Linked DNA regions of Homo sapiens: region 1 is linked to region 2. The links are contacts of gene promoters, found by promoter capture Hi-C in blood cells and fetal thymus (Javierre and others, 2016). All regions are on one chromosome and are shown on one strand. The core of a region is centred on a gene start or on the middle of the fragment in contact, and the rest is flanking DNA. Distances in the headings are between cores, read along the strand shown.

Region 1 (4,156 bases), core at 203-2,702, 110 kb after region 2:
ATCCGGTAGGAAAAGCACAAATAATTGGTAGTGTCCTAGTTTACTTTTTTTTTTTGTCGTATTATCTTGGGTCATAGGAGTATCCCCTCTGTGAAAATCAATTAACAATATTCAACATGCTGATATTAAAAGAAAAGCTTCAAGGTTCCACCGAGATTTGAACTCGGATCGCTGGATTCAGAGTCCAGAGTGCTAACCATTACACCATGGAACCTCCCTCGTGGTGTCTTTCAAGATTGTGTACATTACTGGACATTCTATTTTGCGTGTCTTCCACACCCGTCACTTAAAACGAAAACAAAACAAAGTCTGCTGTTGGATATGGTAGACACCGTTATCGAGCACTTGAAATATATGAATTCAGATGTATTGCCAGCTTCTAAATACACATCTTCTTTTGAAGGAAGGCTTTGTACAAACAAAAAGACTTAAAATTTCATTAATATTTTTAGAATGTTGATTATATGTTAAAATAAGATTTTGGTATATTAGGGTAAGTAAAATAGATCCGTGAAATTAATTTCGCTTGCTTTTTATTCTTTGTAATGTGGCTACCAGAAAATGTAAATTCGATAATACGGCTCGCGTTTGTACTGTTTTAAAGTATGTTTATTACCCTCCACCGTCGTTTGCTGTATTTTGTGGAAATCAAGTTTCTGTATCACCTAGCTTTAAAAACTAGTAACTATTTTTGTTACCATTTTATGCGAAGTGCGGTACCCAAAAGCAAAGACATGCCGCCCGAACAGGGACTTGAACCCTGGACCCTCAGATTAAAAGTCTGATGCTCTACCGACTGAGCTATCCGGGCTCTTCACGAGAGCTTTACTTTTTGCTTATAAGAGGGTTCTCTATAGGAAAAGCCAGGCTTGTAGAACCGACAGAGGATTTTATCTGTGCAGCATAGAATATTTTGGCACAGATTTGGAAGCAGCGGGTGAAGCTCGCCTGCTGCTGATTGAGCTTTTTCTGCCTCCCGTTCTTAGAGCCCCCGCCGAGGCTGCGACGCAGGGACTGTACCATAGTAGAGGCTGGAACAGTGCGGCGCCGGAACCGGCCGCGCGGGGCCGCTGCGGGCTATGGGCTTCTCTGAGAGGTTCCTCCCCAGTCCCTAGTGGCCCAGATCCCGGACACCTGGGCTCCCGCCCAGGATCCTGCAGGCCCAGGGCGGTCCTGGAGCGGAAAGAATGCCACGCGGGGCATTCAGACCCTGTTTGCCGGCGCTGTATTTCGCTTTCCTGACCTGCCCTACTCCAGAGCAGAGAATGAGGTCGGGCGTGCCAAAGGCTGGGGACAAAGAGGGCCATGCGTGGGGGGATCGGTGTATGGGGTGACAGGGAGCTGTTCCTGACCATTTGACATGTGCTGGAATGCGTGTGCGACTCACCTGCGTGTGGCTGCAGTCACGTGTGATTTATGACCAAGTGCAACTCTCCACTGTTTAGTGATTCACACGGATGATTCACACGTAGGAATGCAGGTGCCCTGTGCTCATCTCTGCCTGGGAATGGGGAGGAACAGATCTTGGGGGACATTGGGGAGTGGGCGGACAAGCACTCCAGGGCATCAGTCCGGGCCGCTGACCAGGCGGAGGGCAGTGTCCCAATTATACAGGCGTTACCTCCTTTTCTCCATCTCAGCATCTGATCCCTCCCTCCGCAGTGGAACCCAGGCTCCTGATATCCATCTGGGTGAGCCAGCCAGAGGGACCGGCTGTGTCAGAGGCAAGCAAACAAGTATTAGAGTGCAAGACTGTGGGCGGAGAGAGGAAGCCCGAGCCGCCAGCAGGGAGCTTCGGAGAGAGAAAGCCCAGGAACATCCCAGAGAGAGCTGGGCCCATCCTCAGCCCTACCCAGCCCCGCAGCCCCTAGCCCTCCGCCCAGAAACCCAGCCCTGTCCGGCGTGCCGCTCTTCTCCTCCAGGCCGGCTGCTGCTGCGGCCAGCGTTGCCGGGGCATCCCTTCCTCCTTCCCATCATGGCAGTGTACCGCCTGTGTGTGACCACTGGTCCCTACCTGAGGGCCGGCACACTGGACAACATCTCTGTCACACTGGTGGGCACGTGTGGTGAAAGCCCCAAGCAGCGGCTAGATCGAATGGGCAGGGACTTCGCCCCTGGATCGGTGAGTACAAAGGAGACAGGGAAGCGCGACCTCAGAGGGGCAGGGGCCGCAGGCGGGAGGAGTATTCCTCCTGGACTCTTGAGATCCTGCTGAACTCAGGATACCGGCCCTGACCTCCTCACCTTCCCTATTGAGGTCCCTGTCTTTCCTGGAGATGATGAACTCCATCCAGGCAGGACTGTGGAGAGGAAGGAGCGTTGGACAGGGAGTAGAGGGACTTCCCCTGGCTCCTAAACTCCTCCCATAATTGACCGTGGGCTTTGGGCAAGTCGCTTCCCCTCTCTGAGCCTGGGTTTCCTCTTATCGAGGGGATCTGCCTGCCTCTGCCAGCCCCAGGTGGCCTCCACAAGAGTTCCCAGCCGGCCTAGGAAGCTAGTGAAATGCAGTGCCCACTGTGCTCGGGCACCTTTTTCTTTTCTTTTTGAGATGGAGTTTTGCTCTTGTTGCCCAGGCTGGAGGGCAGTGGTGTGATCTCAGGTCACTGCAACCTCCACCTCCCGGGTTTAAGCGATTCTCCTGCCTCAGCCTCCCAAGTAGCTGGGATTACAGGCGCCTGCCACGACGCCCGACTAATTTTTTGTATTTTTAGTAGAGAAGCGGTTTCATCGGGCAGGCTGGTCTCAAACTCCTGACCTCAGGTGATCCACCCGCCTCGGCCTCCCAAAGTGTTAGGATTACAGGCGTGAGCCACCTCTCCCGGCCCGGGGAAGCTTTTTCTAATTCATACAAAAGCCCGGTATGGGCTGGGAGCAGCTCAGGTTTGTATGCCCGAATAGGCTTAGGTGTAGATGCATCTTGCAAGGCGCAAGGACCGCCTTGGCAGTTCCCCGCCTCTCACCTGCTTGCTGTCTTGGTCCCCTCAGGTACAGAAGTACAAGGTGCGTTGCACAGCGGAGCTGGGTGAGCTCTTGCTGCTGCGTGTACACAAGGAGCGCTACGCTTTCTTCCGCAAGGACTCTTGGTACTGTAGCCGCATCTGTGTCACCGAACCGGATGGTAGTGTATCCCACTTCCCCTGCTATCAGTGGATTGAAGGCTACTGCACCGTGGAGCTGAGGCCAGGAACAGGTGGGCCAGAGACGAGGACTACACTGTACTGCAGAAGGTGTCCTTTGGGATTAGGAGTGGGGTCTCACAGAGCCCCAGAGTATAGGGAATAAGATTGAGGTCAGAAACTCTGGGCTCCCAAGTAGATGTTTTCTGAAAAAAGGGAGCCTCTCAAGCCCTGAAATGCGAGGGTTTTGCAGACGGTATTGACTCTTCTGGAGACTCACATAGACACATACACTCATATAGGCAGGCACCCTTCTCTCATACACATAGGAAGCACTTTGCTTTCCACAGCCTCCCTCTGCACTTCTCCAGAGTGAGTTCCTCCAGACCCCAGAGAGGAACTAACCTGCACCCTGAGTCATTAGATTTTAACAGGTAGAGAAGCCCTGGCTGCTCAGAGATTTTAGCTGGAGAGGCCCCATTCCCTCCCCTACTACTAGCTTTTCTAGTGTGGATGAGGTCCCTGAGAGGTGCTGCTAGGATTCCTTGTTGAATTTCTGGGGCCTTCTGCAGATGCTGGGCTTGAGCATCTTCAGTTTCCAGAGCTATCTGATCTGGAGAGGCAACAGTAGGGCTGCTCTGGGTGTTGGGAGGAGGCTCAGGATGAAGGAGGGATATTCTAGGTCAAAGTGAGGCAAATGAATATTACCCCATGGTCCGTAATAAGTTTTCCATAGACCTCACTATAAACTCTCATCCATCTCCACAGCACATCCATCCATAGCTTCACAAAATATATTTGTTCATCAGTCATTTAAAGTGCATCTTATACACATGGTGCCAGGCACCATGCTAGAAGCCGGGAATACAGAAGAAGAAAAAGAAGAAAAAGGAATACAAGACGACTTCTGCCCTCAGGGAGTTTATAGTCTGGAGGGGAGATAAACATGCCAACAATTGGGAAGATTGCTATAATTTGGGGGTGAAGCTGTCTTGAATCCCTTCTACTGATGAATACACAAAGAACGTGGGGGCACCGCC
Region 2 (3,915 bases), core at 446-2,945:
TACCTCCATCCCTCTCCACCAGCGGGATGTCAGGGTAAGGAGTAAGCAGGGATCCGGCTGGCCTGGCCTGGCCTGGCACCAGGTTTCGTGCAGCAGGGTGCAGAAGGGCTGAGGCCATGTGAACAGAGTCCAAGAAAGCATCATTCGGGAGTCGCTAGGGATCCTGGTGTGGAAGGGCAGGGCACTTTTCTGGAGCACTGAAGCTAGGCTGGTTAAGGAAGAAATAAATGCCAGAGATAAGGCAAGAAATAGGATCTGTGAGCTCTTGGCAGGACCTAAACCTCCTTGGAAGATAGGCAGAAAGCTCTCGACACCATTCCATGGCCCACGAACCAATGTAAGATGAGCAAATGGCTTGAAGGAATTGCTACCTCCAGGTCAAGCCAGGGATGCAGCACTGCCGAGACCACGTTTGTGCCAAGCACTGGGCTGGACCCTGTGCAGAACCAAATGAACAAGGCACGTTCCCCTTTCAGCACTAACGGCACTGTAAGAACAGGGAGAAGTGGAATCTAATCTGGCCTGAGGGTAGAGGGTGATCAGCTAAGTCTGAAACACCATGTAGAAACTTGCCATGTATGGCCGGGCGCGGTGGCTCACGCCTGTAATCCCAGCGCTTTGGGAGGCCAAGGTGGGCGGATCACGAGGTCAGGAGTTCCAGACCAGCAGCCTGGCCAACATAGTGAAACCTGGTAACATAGTGAAACCTCGTCTCTACTAAAAATGCAAAAAATTAGCCAGGCGTGGTGGCAGGCGCCTGCAGTCCTAGCTACTTGGGAGGCTGAGGCAAGAGAATCGCTTCAACCTTGGAGGGGGGAGGAGGTGTTGTCAGCCGAGATCGCGCCACTGCATCCCAGCCTGGGCAACAAGAGTGAAACTCCGTCTCAAAAAAATGAAATAAAATAAACGAATGATCAGCTGTTTGTTAGTTCTTGGTTATTAAAAGTGGGGTCTATGTACGCACTTTTCTGAGGAAAAAATAAAGTGTGGGGTATGTGGATGGGATTATGTGTGAACTCCCTGGATTGTATACATGTTTAGGAAGAGGGCCATAGCTTTTTTTTTTTTTTTTTTTTTTTGAGACGGAGGGAGTCTCATTCTGTCACCCAGGCTGGAGTGCAATGGCACAATATTGACTCACTGCAACCTCCGCTTCCCGGGTTCAAGCAATTCTCCTGCCTCAGTCTCCCGAGTAGCTGGGATTACAGGCGCCCGCCACCACGCCTGGCTAATTTTTGTATATTTAGTAGAGACGGGGTTTCACCATTTTGGTCAGGCTGGTCTTGAACTCCTGACCTTGTGATCCACCCACCTCAGCCTCCCAAAGTGCTGGGATTACAGGTGTGAGCCACTGTGCCCGGTGAAGAGGGACATAGCTTTCATAAGGGTCATAAAGGATTTAGGCCTCCCCTTCTGCAGCGTTTAAGTGCCTGAGGCCAGGGAAGAGGTGACTGGATTATTTTGCAGAGAAAGCTGGGGCCCAAGGGGAGGGAGACAGGAATTGGAAAAGGGTAGGAATGGGGGAGGAGATGCCAGATCAGCCCTGAGAACCTCTTTACCCATCTCAAAGACTTGGGACACTAATGGGAAAGGCTGGGCTAACTTCTGCTGCCCTTCCCCACTGTCTGTCCAGGGGAACCTGGGAAAGACAAATAGGAGCTGAATCCTTCACTGAAAGCCCCGTCATCGTATCTATGGGTTGGGCATTAGGAACGGCCTGGCCCCACAAATCACACAACTGGGGTGTAGAACAAAATGGTTCCACAGATGACACCAGGCTGGTCCAGGGCCGATGCAGGCCAGAACCCCGCTGGGAGGACTCCCCAGAACAGGCACTGAGCTGAGGAAAGGCAGGACACGTGGTCTGCTACCGACCCCACCAGATCTTGCTGGGACTCTGGGCAGCTCCGGAGTAAGAGCAGCATGGTGAGTGTTTAAGAGCGCAGAGGCTCACTGGGCAGTCCCGGGGACACTGCTAAGTCCCCAAACCGGGTCTACAGGCCTTCGACCACATTCATGCGGCCACGTGCCTCAGAGCCTTCGGGGGGTCTTAGGAGGCAGGCAGGAGGGTCTCCCTTCTAGGCCATTCTAGGAGGGGACTGGGGAGCAGAGGTTAGACTGTAGGGTAGGGGTAACCTGATCTTACAGTCCGGAAGCCATGAGACTAGTCGCCTGGCCTTGCGCCCCGCCCCACTGCAGGGTGGAAAGCCTGTCCCCCTCCAGTCACCCAGCTCAATAACGCCCTCTTCCGTGGGTCTTCTGGGCCCCAGAAATCGTTCCCTCTTTCCCTCGCTTGGGTACTGCCATGCGGTCTGGGGAACCCGTGGACTATCGATGGGTCTGGCCCAGGGTTTGCCCTGCCCGTTAGCCCAGGAGGATAGACAGACACGGGGCACTGGTGTTCCCCTAGTGATTTCTCCTGCCCGTCCCGAAAGCAAGCAATTCCACCGCTTCTCTTCAAAGCTCTGCAACGAAGAGCTAGGTCCAAGGACCGCAGGCGGAGGCAGGAAGTGTCAAGATCCCAGGTTACGGAATGGCACCAAGTCGGTAACCAAAGGAAGCAACAACCCGGGTGTTCAAGGCAGTCGTGCAAGGCGGCGCGGGGGCGAGGCCGAGGCCACTCCCTCCCACTTCCTTGACGCTATTTCCTGGGAGGAGCCGGAGCTCGCGGCCCGGAGCCAAGAGATTCCCAGCCCAGTGCTCCAAAATACTCGGCCTGGGGGAGGCTGGTCCGTGAGCGTGCGCCCGGACCGTTCCGCCATGCATAGTGGACCCAGCACTACAGCAAGCCTGGCACGACCTCTAAGGCGGTTCGCGGCAACGTCCGCACGTCGGCTCGTTGGTCTAGGGGTATGATTCTCGCTTCGGGTGCGAGAGGTCCCGGGTTCAAATCCCGGACGAGCCCTCCTTTACCTTTTACTGAGACAAGAGTGTCTTCAAGGAATAGGTTACCTGACCAGCGCTGCAGGAGGCTTGACTGTAAGTCATCAATGTACAGTAAGCTCTTTTGTGGCACCGCGGTAGCAGAAAGCATCTCAATCCCCAGACCCGCCTGGCATGTCAGGAAGAGACGAGGCACGCCCAGACTTGGGCAGGTCCCTCCCTTTCTGCTTCCTGACTTCCTTCCTGGTGTCTCAACTCGGCCACCACAGCCTGGTTTCGCTTTGATTGACACGCGTCAATCTATAGTTGTGGATGACAGTGTTCGGGAGAGCCCAGGAACTGTCAAAACTTGGTTCTCTGCAGTCCTGAAGGCACTCTGTCTCTTTCGGTCACTCCATCTGACGATTGGTGCCTGAAATACACCTACGGTTTCTGGTCAGCGTTTATCAGTGGTTGGAAGAACAGAACCCCTAGGAACCCTGCTGTCAGCACGCAGAGTGTAAAGTCTCAGATCAAGGATTCGGAGAAAGGTCTCTACAGGTCCCTCCTCGTTAGTATAGTGGTGAGTATCCCCGCCTGTCACGCGGGAGACCGGGGTTCGATTCCCCGACGGGGAGAGTACTAGCAGTTTTGAAACTTCTATCTTTTTGCTTTCATTAAATCCGTCCTGGTCCCTGGGATGGAGCTATAAAAAAGAGGGAAAGGAGGAGGGGAGGAGAGTTTGGCCTTCCTCTCCAGCTCGCATTCTAAGTTTCCATTTTACTTCAAGCAACTTAGAGTTCAAACGTGTACCTAAAGTGGCCATTATCTGCTCTGCTCAGTATGCTCATTAGCGCTCAGACTTGGCCTAGCTTGCTCCCTCCTTGACGGAAGTGCGCATTTCCAGTCTCTGCTTGAACCTGGGCAAGTAGCTTTGGCCCCCAGCCGTCCAGGGTGCAGAGCCCGGGCTTTTGTTTCCTTTCGCCTCCCTGCTTTTTGTGGATTCGCACTGCGATCCGGGAACAGTAGGCAACCCCGGGCCGAGATTCCGAC

Evidence for each region. The method cuts DNA at HindIII sites, captures the fragments that hold promoters and counts their contacts. A CHiCAGO score of 5 or more calls a contact.
Region 1: a contact is called between the fragment with the promoter of ALOXE3 here and the fragment with the promoter of LINC00324 in region 2, in 14 of 17 cell types (non-activated CD4 T cells, naive CD8 T cells, fetal thymus and 11 more). The highest score is 14.0, in non-activated CD4 T cells.

Annotation. Positions count from the first base shown.
Region 1 is chr17:8,115,810-8,119,965 of GRCh38, reverse strand. It overlaps ALOXE3 (arachidonate epidermal lipoxygenase 3), which reads left to right and starts at 1,452. Exons shown (of 16, transcript NM_021628.3): 1 at 1,452-1,480; 2 at 1,663-2,122; 3 at 2,986-3,190. The coding sequence starts at 1,976. TRK-TTT3-5 (tRNA-Lys (anticodon TTT) 3-5) reads right to left here and starts at 811; the gene lies at 739-811. TRQ-CTG1-5 (tRNA-Gln (anticodon CTG) 1-5) reads right to left here and starts at 214; the gene lies at 143-214. RefSeq lists silencers at 96-185, 316-365 and enhancers at 886-985, 1,136-1,205, 1,286-1,365, 1,087-2,286. The HindIII fragment of the contact is 2,695 bases long and covers 140-2,834 here.
Region 2 is chr17:8,221,823-8,225,737 of GRCh38, reverse strand. LINC00324 (long intergenic non-protein coding RNA 324) reads left to right here and starts at 1,695. Exons shown (of 3, transcript NR_026951.1): 1 at 1,695-1,926; 2 at 2,464-3,445. CTC1 (CST telomere replication complex component 1) reads left to right here. Exons shown (of 23, transcript NM_025099.6): 23 at 1-923. It overlaps TRP-CGG1-3 (tRNA-Pro (anticodon CGG) 1-3), which reads left to right and starts at 2,834; the gene lies at 2,834-2,905. It overlaps TRD-GTC2-11 (tRNA-Asp (anticodon GTC) 2-11), which reads left to right and starts at 3,429; the gene lies at 3,429-3,500. RefSeq lists enhancers at 1,912-2,151, 2,402-2,531, 2,078-2,819, 3,142-3,341, 3,722-3,861 and silencers at 2,882-2,931, 3,392-3,461. The HindIII fragment of the contact is 13,535 bases long and covers 1-3,915 here.